Linked DNA regions of Homo sapiens: regions 2 and 3 are each linked to region 1. The links are contacts of gene promoters, found by promoter capture Hi-C in blood cells and fetal thymus (Javierre and others, 2016). All regions are on one chromosome and are shown on one strand. The core of a region is centred on a gene start or on the middle of the fragment in contact, and the rest is flanking DNA. Distances in the headings are between cores, read along the strand shown.

Region 1 (2,711 bases), core at 76-2,575:
CCAACTTAAACATTTTATCTGCTACACTCAATAACCATCGAGTATGTTTAAGAGAAAGTGCTTTATATAACAAAGCAGAAAGGCTCTTGATAATAACTTAGAGGCTTCATCCTTGCATTTTTCTCAAGATGAAAACGCTAACATAATGAGCTGTCAAGGTAGGTTCATCAATTGTAACAAATGGGCCACTCCAGTGGAGGATGTTGATCATGGGGGACGCTGTGCGTGCGTGGGGAGAGGGGATATATGACGTGTCCCTATACCTTCCGCTCAATTGTGCTGTGAACCTAAAACTGCTCTAAGAAATAAAGTCTATTAAAACAAGCAAACCAGCCAGCTGCAGTGGCTCACTCCTGTAATTCCAGCACTTTGGGAGGCCGAGGTGGGTAGATCGATTGAGCCCAGGAGTTTGTGAAACTCCCTCTCCACAAACAATTTTTGTAAAAATTAGCGGGGTGTGGTGGCACGTGCCTGTAGCCCCAGCTACTGGGGAGGCTGAGGTGGGAGGATTGTTTGAGCCTGGGAGGTTGTAGCTGCAATGAGCCATGATTACGCCACTGCACTCCAGCCTGGGTGACAGAGCAAGACCCTGTCTCAAAAAAAAAGTTAAACAACAACAAACCCAACAACCAACTAACCGAAACACTAAGAATCAGAGAAGTAAAATATAATTCGCTTCATCCAGACAGCTAGCCCGGTGAGGACTACAACCTTCCTCTCTTCCTTCTTCACTTCTTTGCTCTCTCTTTTTAAACCCACATCTTAGCAATTCCTCTGCTATTGGGTCATTAAATCGCCACCTCTAATTTTTTTTTCTAAGCATTTATTGAGGGCCAAGCACTGTGTTACACATCTCCTCATTAAAATGGTATAGCAACCTTTTCTGGTCGATATTATGATCCCATTTTTCAATTTTTACTTTTGAGTGAAGGACATTGATTCTTAGAGATTGTAAGGAACTTGCCCAAGGCTGCCGGCTGGTTAGTGGCAGAGCTGGGATGGGAAAGTCCGTATTTTCCACCGCGCTGTATTAGTGAGGGCTCTTTGTGTCACTTCTGTGCATAACTCCGCCCCAAGTTAAAAGGCTCGCTGCTCTCGACAGGTCCTCCTCCTCCTCCCGCTAGGTCCTCCTCCTCCTCCCGCCAGGTCCTCCTCCTCCTTCTCCTCCCGGGGCCCTGCCCTGCGGGTCTCACCTGCTGCTCCGCGGGGTCCCGGCGGGGGCCGGATAGCGCCCCCTGGCGGCAGGTGGGCGCCCGCGCAGCGCATGCTAATGAGCCCGCGGCGCCGCTCGCGGATTGGCTGGCGCGGATTCCAGCTGCTTTCCAAGTCAGCGGCGCCTAGTGAGAGTCAGGGGGGCCCGGCCCGCGCCCTCCCCGCCCAGCCGCCTCCCCGTCGACGCCCAGGGCTGGGGCGAGCCAGGCTGCCTTTCGAACTTGGGGGGCTTCTCCTCTTGTCTCCCACTGGTGCTCTGGCTGTGAATCCATCCAGGGGCCAGGATGACAATCCGACACCAAGGCCAGCAGTACAGGCCGAGGATGGCATTTCTCCAAAAGGTAACCCTGGCCCCTCACCTGGACCCTGGGAGGAGGGCGGGGGACCGCATCTGCGAAGCGTCCGAGGACAAGAGGGGCAGGAGTGGAGAGCACCCCTTTGGGTCGATTTGTGCTGCTCGATTTTATTAAGTGACTTCTTTGCTGTGTGTGTCGATATTGATGGCTATAATAATTAGGTTTTCGTGTGCCCTGCCTGTAGTGGAGAATCTGAAGCCAGCGCTGATGGTCTGCGGGAGGTGAAAACAACCTGTTACTCGGGAGAGGCAGGTTCAGTTCAGGCTGTGGCAGATTTGAGACAGCCTGCTGATATTGTTGTAAGACGACCAGATGTGACATTGCCATTTTTGCCTTTTTTTTCTGATCCCAAACTGCACTATTTTAAAGTGTGTGTGTGTGTACACATAGACCATGAAAACGGGGTGATTTGTAGGATAAAGGGCCACCCCATTTACAATGCCCTGAGAGCCCTCATTTGAGTGTGTCTATCTGTGCATCTCCTGCTGTCTGCGCTGGCGGCAGAAGTCCCAACCTTTTCGCTTCCCTTGCGAATGCTTTCCCAGACAAAGTGACCGGGCACAGGGTGTGCACACAGGATGGACATGTGGGAGGTGGAATGCACCTGTGGGGTGATGTGTTTGGGGACAAAGTGGTTCATTTAGTTCTGAGCTTCTGGTATAATCACTGTCCGATGAGATCTACAGAGGATTAGGTCCCGGGTCACATCTTTGTCCTTCCTCCCACCCGTAGCCACTTTTCACAGCGTAGTGTCCATCTTCTTAGGCTTATCTTGTTGAGTAGAATTAGTTGAATGTTTTGTGACAAGCTGAGCTCTCCCTGAGCCCCTGGAGCTCAGCAAATTTGTATAGTCAGTGACCGCTGTCCTGATTTGCCCAGGACTTTCAATGCTAAAACCTGGACAGTCCTGGGGACCCCGAGACGGTCGCATTTGGTCCACCTGTTTCAAGATGCTCGTGCTCATCTTCCGGGTAGCAGAGGTGTGGGTATCATCTGTAAAGCAGACAGGCTGAATGTTGTCTCACTCAGAAAGAACCCTGAGAGCCTGTATTGCAGATACCAGTTACTAAAAGCAGAAGAAACTGCCTAAGTCGGCTATCTCAAAGCCACACATCATCTTCCAGGATTTATCCTAGGACTGTC
Region 2 (2,711 bases), core at 79-2,578, 1.0 Mb after region 1:
TCTGTAAAAGATTTTAAATCAAAATATTAAGGATTTGTATGCTGAAAACTACAAAACTCTGATGAGAAAGATAAAAAAAACTCTTAAGTGTTAGATATCAGTTCTCCCCAAATTGACCTGTAGATTTAATGCAACTCCCATCAAAACCCAGCCGTATTATTTGTAGAGATAAGCTTAATTCTAAAATTTACATGAAAAAGTAAAGGAACTAAAGAGCCCAAACAATTTTGAGAAAGTACAAAGTTGGAGAACTCACATTACCAGATTTTAAGATGTACTCCAAAGCCACAGTAGTCAAGACAATTGGTATTGGTGAAAGGATAGACAGATCAGTGGAAAAGATTAGAGAGTCCAGAAACCAGACCAAAACAAACATAAACAACTGATTTTCAACAAAGGTGTGATCCATGAAGAAATGACAGTTATTACAACAAATGATGTCATAACAATTGGATATCCATATACAAAAAAAAAAGAACTTCAACCTAAACTTCATCCTGTATATAAAAATTAACTCAATATGAATCACAGACCTAAGTGTAAAAATGTAAAACTATACAACTCTTACAAGAAAGCATGGGAGGAAATCTTTGCAAACTTGAGTAAGGCTAAGATTTCTTATATACAACATTAAAAGCACTATCCACAAAAGGAAAAACTGACCAGGCATGATAGCTCATGCCTGTAATCCCAGAACTTTGGGAGTCCCAGGCAGGAGGAATGCTTGAGCTCAGGAGTTAAAGACCACCCTGGGCAATTTGGTGAGACCCCATCTCTACAAAACAAAAAAAAAATTAAAAATTAGCCAGGTGTAGTGGCACGTACCTGTAGTCCCAGCTACTTGGGATGCTGAGGTGGGAGAATTGTTTGAAAGTGTGAGAGGTAAAGGCTGCAGTGGGCCATGATCGCACCACTAAACTCTAGCCTCGGTGACAGAGCAAGACCCTATCTCAAAAATAAAAAAGAAAGCTGACATATTGAACTTCACAAAAAAAAACTGTCCTGCAAAGGACGTTGTTAAGGAATTGAGAAGATAAGCCACAGACCAGAACAAAATATTTGCAAATCATACATCTCATACGAGACTTGTATCAAGAATACATAAGGACTCTCAAAATTCAACAATCAGAAAACAAACTACCCCGATAATCAGCAAAAAAAATTAGTCCCTTTACCAAAGAAGAAATACAGATGGCAAGTAAGCACATGACAAGATGCTCAATATCATTACAGAAATGCAAATTAAAACTATACTGAGATACCACTAACATTAAAAATGCAAACAATACCAAGTGCTGGTGAGGATGGACAACAACAGAAACTCTCATGCATTGCTGGTAGAAATACAAAATAGTACAGGCACTCTGGAAAACAGTTTGGCAGTTTCTTACAAAAATAAACATACACTCAGCCTATGACCCAGAAATCCCACTCCCAAGTATTTAGCTAAGTGAAAAGAAAAATCTATATACACAAAAAAATCCAAATGTGATTTTTTTTAAATAACCACCAAACAACTGAAAACAGCCCAAATGTCCCTCAAATGGTGACTAGATAAACTGTGGCATATCCACACAATAACATAGTACTCAGCAACAGAAAGGAATGAACTGCTGATACACACAAAACATGGAAACTTCAAATCCTTATGCTAAGTGAAAGAAGCCCTTCTCAAAAGGCTGCATACTAATTCCATTTGTGTGACATTCTAGAAAAGGCAAACAATATAGGCATAAAGAACAGATCAGCAGCTCATGGGGATAGCAGTGGGGGCAGAGTCTCAACACAAAGGGATGGCACAAAGAAACGATTTGGCATGTTGGAATTTTTCTGTACACTATCTATGTAGGAAGTTATAAGAACCTACAGTGGCAAGAACTATATGCCAAAAAAAGTGCATTTGCTGTATATAAGTTAAAAAAAATTTTTTTTGAGACAGAGTCTTGCTCTGTTCTCCAGGCTATGGAGTGCAATGGCACAATCTTGGCTCACTGCAACCTCCGCCTCCTGGGTTCAAGTGATTCTCCTGCCTCAGACTCCTGAGTAGCTGGGATTACAGGCACACACCACCATGCCCGGCTAACTTTTCTATTTTTAGTAGAGATGGGGTTTCACCATGTTGGTCAGGCTGGTCTCGAACTCCTGACCTCGTGATCCATCCACCTCAGCCTCCCAAAGTGCTGGCATTACAGGCATGAGCCACTGCGCCCCGCCAAATTTAAACTTTTTAATCCTTTTTAAAAACTGTAAAATATTGGTCATCATACTTCCTTCTAATTAACAAGAAAAACACTGAATACAAAGGGGGTGAATCCCAAAAATCAAAAGTGTAGGTTTTGACAAAATTTGTTAAGTTAAAAATACATACACACACTACATGTTCCTTTAAACTGTGAAATGTCCTGATAGGGATGTGCGCTACCTTTACATTATGAATAGTGCCAATTTGTCATTTATTCCATTTACAAATTCTATATTCGGTGAAAAGCTTTGTTCTGCCTCATAAGCTATCTTGCTCCACAAACTGCCCTCTATCTGCTAAACCAGCTTCTAATATTTACCACATTATCAAATGGTTTCCATCATTTCATCATTAACAACCTCTTCATAGAAAGTTCTCTCTACCCTGTCTCTGTAAGTAAATCGTAGCTTTTACTTGCTGACTTTACTTTCCTCAGTCATTAGAGGTAAGCCAAGGTCTCTCATAATCT
Region 3 (2,711 bases), core at 57-2,556, 1.0 Mb after region 1:
AATATTGTTATATACCATCTGCAGAACAGTCTTCTTTGGGTATATTACTAAATATACTTATGAAACATAAAAATAAATAACAATTAATAATCCAGTAAAGTATCAAATAATGCTGAAAATTAAAAAATGAAAATAACTTCCAAAAATCCACAACATACTTATTTTAATTTTTCAAAAAGAACTTTATTAGAAAGAAAAAGAAAACTAAATGAAAAAAAATGAGATGCTTAACAAAACTAGAAAAAGGTGAGCACAGATCCATAAACACTTTAAGACTTCGTATTTCCAACTACTTACTTTAAAATGGCACACTTGATTTTAAAACTTAAAAATAAAAACAAATTTAAAAATCGTACATTTAAATCATTGTTTATTAATATATCTCTGACTTAGAACACTCAATATTTAAATTTCATTAAAATTAAATGTTAAAATATAAGCTGTTATCCATTTTTGTTTATTAAAAAGGACAACCCAAACTGTTCAATATTACCTGACAAACAGAAACTTGTGAAATTAAAAGATGTCATTACAAAGCCTCACTCATTAAAAGAAAGAAAAAGAGAAATGTGACTAAATTGTCAGAAAGCTGACTTACTGGGGGAGAAAAAAGCCTAAATGGCCCAAGGACCATTATTTTCAAAGCTGCTCCATCCCAGTTACAAATAGTTGCCACTTGGCCTCATCTTAGTAAATACCTAAGAGTGACATTTAATTAGCACATTAATGTTGAAAATTAATGAGTAGCTAAGAGGTTTTATATGTGTGAAATGTTGTATTTTATTGTGTACTCTAACAAGCAGTTTTCACTTCTCATTTATGTAGCAGTCCTATTTCTAGAGTACAAGGTTAAGTGTCTATCAGCAAGTGTCCATTGTATAAAAGATTGTCAAATTAGTCAGATTTGGCCAGGCACAGTGGCTCACGCCTGTAATCCCAGCACTTTGGGAGGCCAAGGCGGGAGGACCATTTGAGGTCAAGAGTTGGAGCCCACCCTGGCCAACATAGCAAGACCCCGTCTCTACCAAAAATACAAAAATTAGCCAGGCGTGGTGGCGGGCACCTGTAATCCCAGCTACTCGGGAGGCTGGGGCAGGAGAATCACTGAACCCAGGAGGCAGAGGTTGCAGTGAGGGGAGATCGCGCCACTGCACTCCAGCCTGGGCGACAGTGCGAAACTCTATCTCAAAAAAAAAAAAAAAAAAATGGCCAGCATGGTAGCTCATGCCTGTAATCCCAGCACTTTGGGAGGCCGAGGCATATGGATCACAACGTCAGGCATTCAAGACCAGCCTGGCCAAGATGGTAAAGCCCCGTCTCTACTAAAAATACAAAAATTAGTTGGGCGTGGTGGCAGGCGCCCGTAATCCCAGCTATTCAGGAGGCTGAGGCAGAGAATTGCTTGAACACAGAAGGCAGAGGTTGTGGTGAGCCGAGATCGTGCCATTGCACTCCAGCCTGGGCAACAAAGTGAAACTCCATCTCAAAAAAAATATATATATATATACACACATATATGTGTGTGTGTGTGTGTGTGTGTGTGTGTGTGTGTATATTTATTTATAAACAGTTTCTTTTTTGTTAGTAGGAGCTCCTCTGACAGCAGAAATTGACCAAGAGCAACTAGATGTTGATCATGGGTGATCATCACCAAAAAAGGGAGCTGCCCGTGAAATGCAAGTAAGCACAGAAGAAAGGTCTCCCATGTGGCAGAGCCAGTTTCTATGCACCAGCACCCAAGCCCTAGTCCCCATTCCTACCCCACATCCCCACCGAGACAGAGAACAGGCCACCAGCTCTCCATCTGGTCAGTCAGGTTTTGCAATGGCCAAGCAGAAGATTCGGATCTGGTACTGTTCTGCCCAACACAGTAGCCCCTAATCACATGTGGCTATTTAAGTTAATTAAAATTAGAAATTCAGTTTTTCAATCACACCAGCCACATTTCAAGTGTTCAATAGTCACGTTTACTGGTGGCGACTGTATTGGACAGTGCCGCCTATAGAACATTACCATCAGAAAGTTCTATTGAACAGTACTGCTGTAGAACACATATCTGCCCAAACATCAGGGTTATTCACAAATAAAATGAATGTACTTTTGGCAGGTAATATTTAAGAAGGTTTTACTAAGAAGGAAAGGTATTGATTGGCTCCTTGCTAAATTATCCAACAATTTCAGGAGGAGCAATTTATAATGTTATATAGTATCATTTACATATAAAAGTGGAGTTTAACAAAGTAAAAAGATTCTTTTGCATGCCCAGACTAAAAAATTAAATCAATATTTTTAAAGTGAAAAATGTTTGCTCACATAGATTAACTTCTTCAACCACAAGTGGGTTTTCATTATACTTGATCACCATCTGCTGGCCATGTTATTAAACTGCACACACAAATGAAATGCTAGCTATATTGGGGTAAGACATACAGAATCCCAGCTTTTTGCCACAATGCATTCCTGGAAAACCATATCATAAAGAGGATCATTATAAAGCAAGTCACATTTTCCATAAGGGCAGGACCATAATTAGAATCTTCATTCCAAACTAAAATCTAGCATCAAATAACCCATGGCAAAATCTCATTAAAGCAAAGATGTAAAAACTATAGTCCTCTATAATTATTTAAAATAGGATAATTATTCTCCAAGTTCTTTCTTACAGGTATGAACACATGTATTATTTAGATGACCCAACATGAGTTAAAAGA

The links. Contacts are between HindIII fragments. The CHiCAGO score rates a contact against its expected background, and 5 or more counts as called.
Region 2: a fragment that was not itself captured here is called in contact with the fragment with the promoter of RGS9 in region 1 in 3 of 17 cell types (fetal thymus, activated CD4 T cells and naive B cells); the score reaches 5.5 in fetal thymus.
Region 3: a contact is called between a fragment that was not itself captured here and the fragment with the promoter of RGS9 in region 1, in 7 of 17 cell types (M1 macrophages, naive B cells, naive CD4 T cells and 4 more). The highest score is 7.7, in M1 macrophages.

The regions. Positions count from the first base shown.
Region 1 is chr17:65,136,045-65,138,755 of GRCh38, forward strand. RGS9 (regulator of G protein signaling 9) reads left to right here and starts at 1,326. Exons shown (of 19, transcript NM_003835.4): 1 at 1,326-1,553. The coding sequence starts at 1,497. RefSeq lists a silencer at 1,016-1,515. The HindIII fragment of the contact is 12,932 bases long and covers 1-2,711 here.
Region 2 is chr17:66,183,307-66,186,017 of GRCh38, forward strand. It overlaps CEP112 (centrosomal protein 112), which reads right to left. Exons shown (of 27, transcript NM_001199165.4): 2 at 1. Among named protein-coding and RNA genes, the nearest start is that of CEP112, 7.5 kb to the right of the region's middle. The HindIII fragment of the contact is 2,315 bases long and covers 172-2,486 here.
Region 3 is chr17:66,163,370-66,166,080 of GRCh38, forward strand. All of the region lies in intron 4 of CEP112 (centrosomal protein 112), which reads right to left. Among named protein-coding and RNA genes, the nearest start is that of CEP112, 27 kb to the right of the region's middle. The HindIII fragment of the contact is 3,636 bases long and covers 1-2,711 here.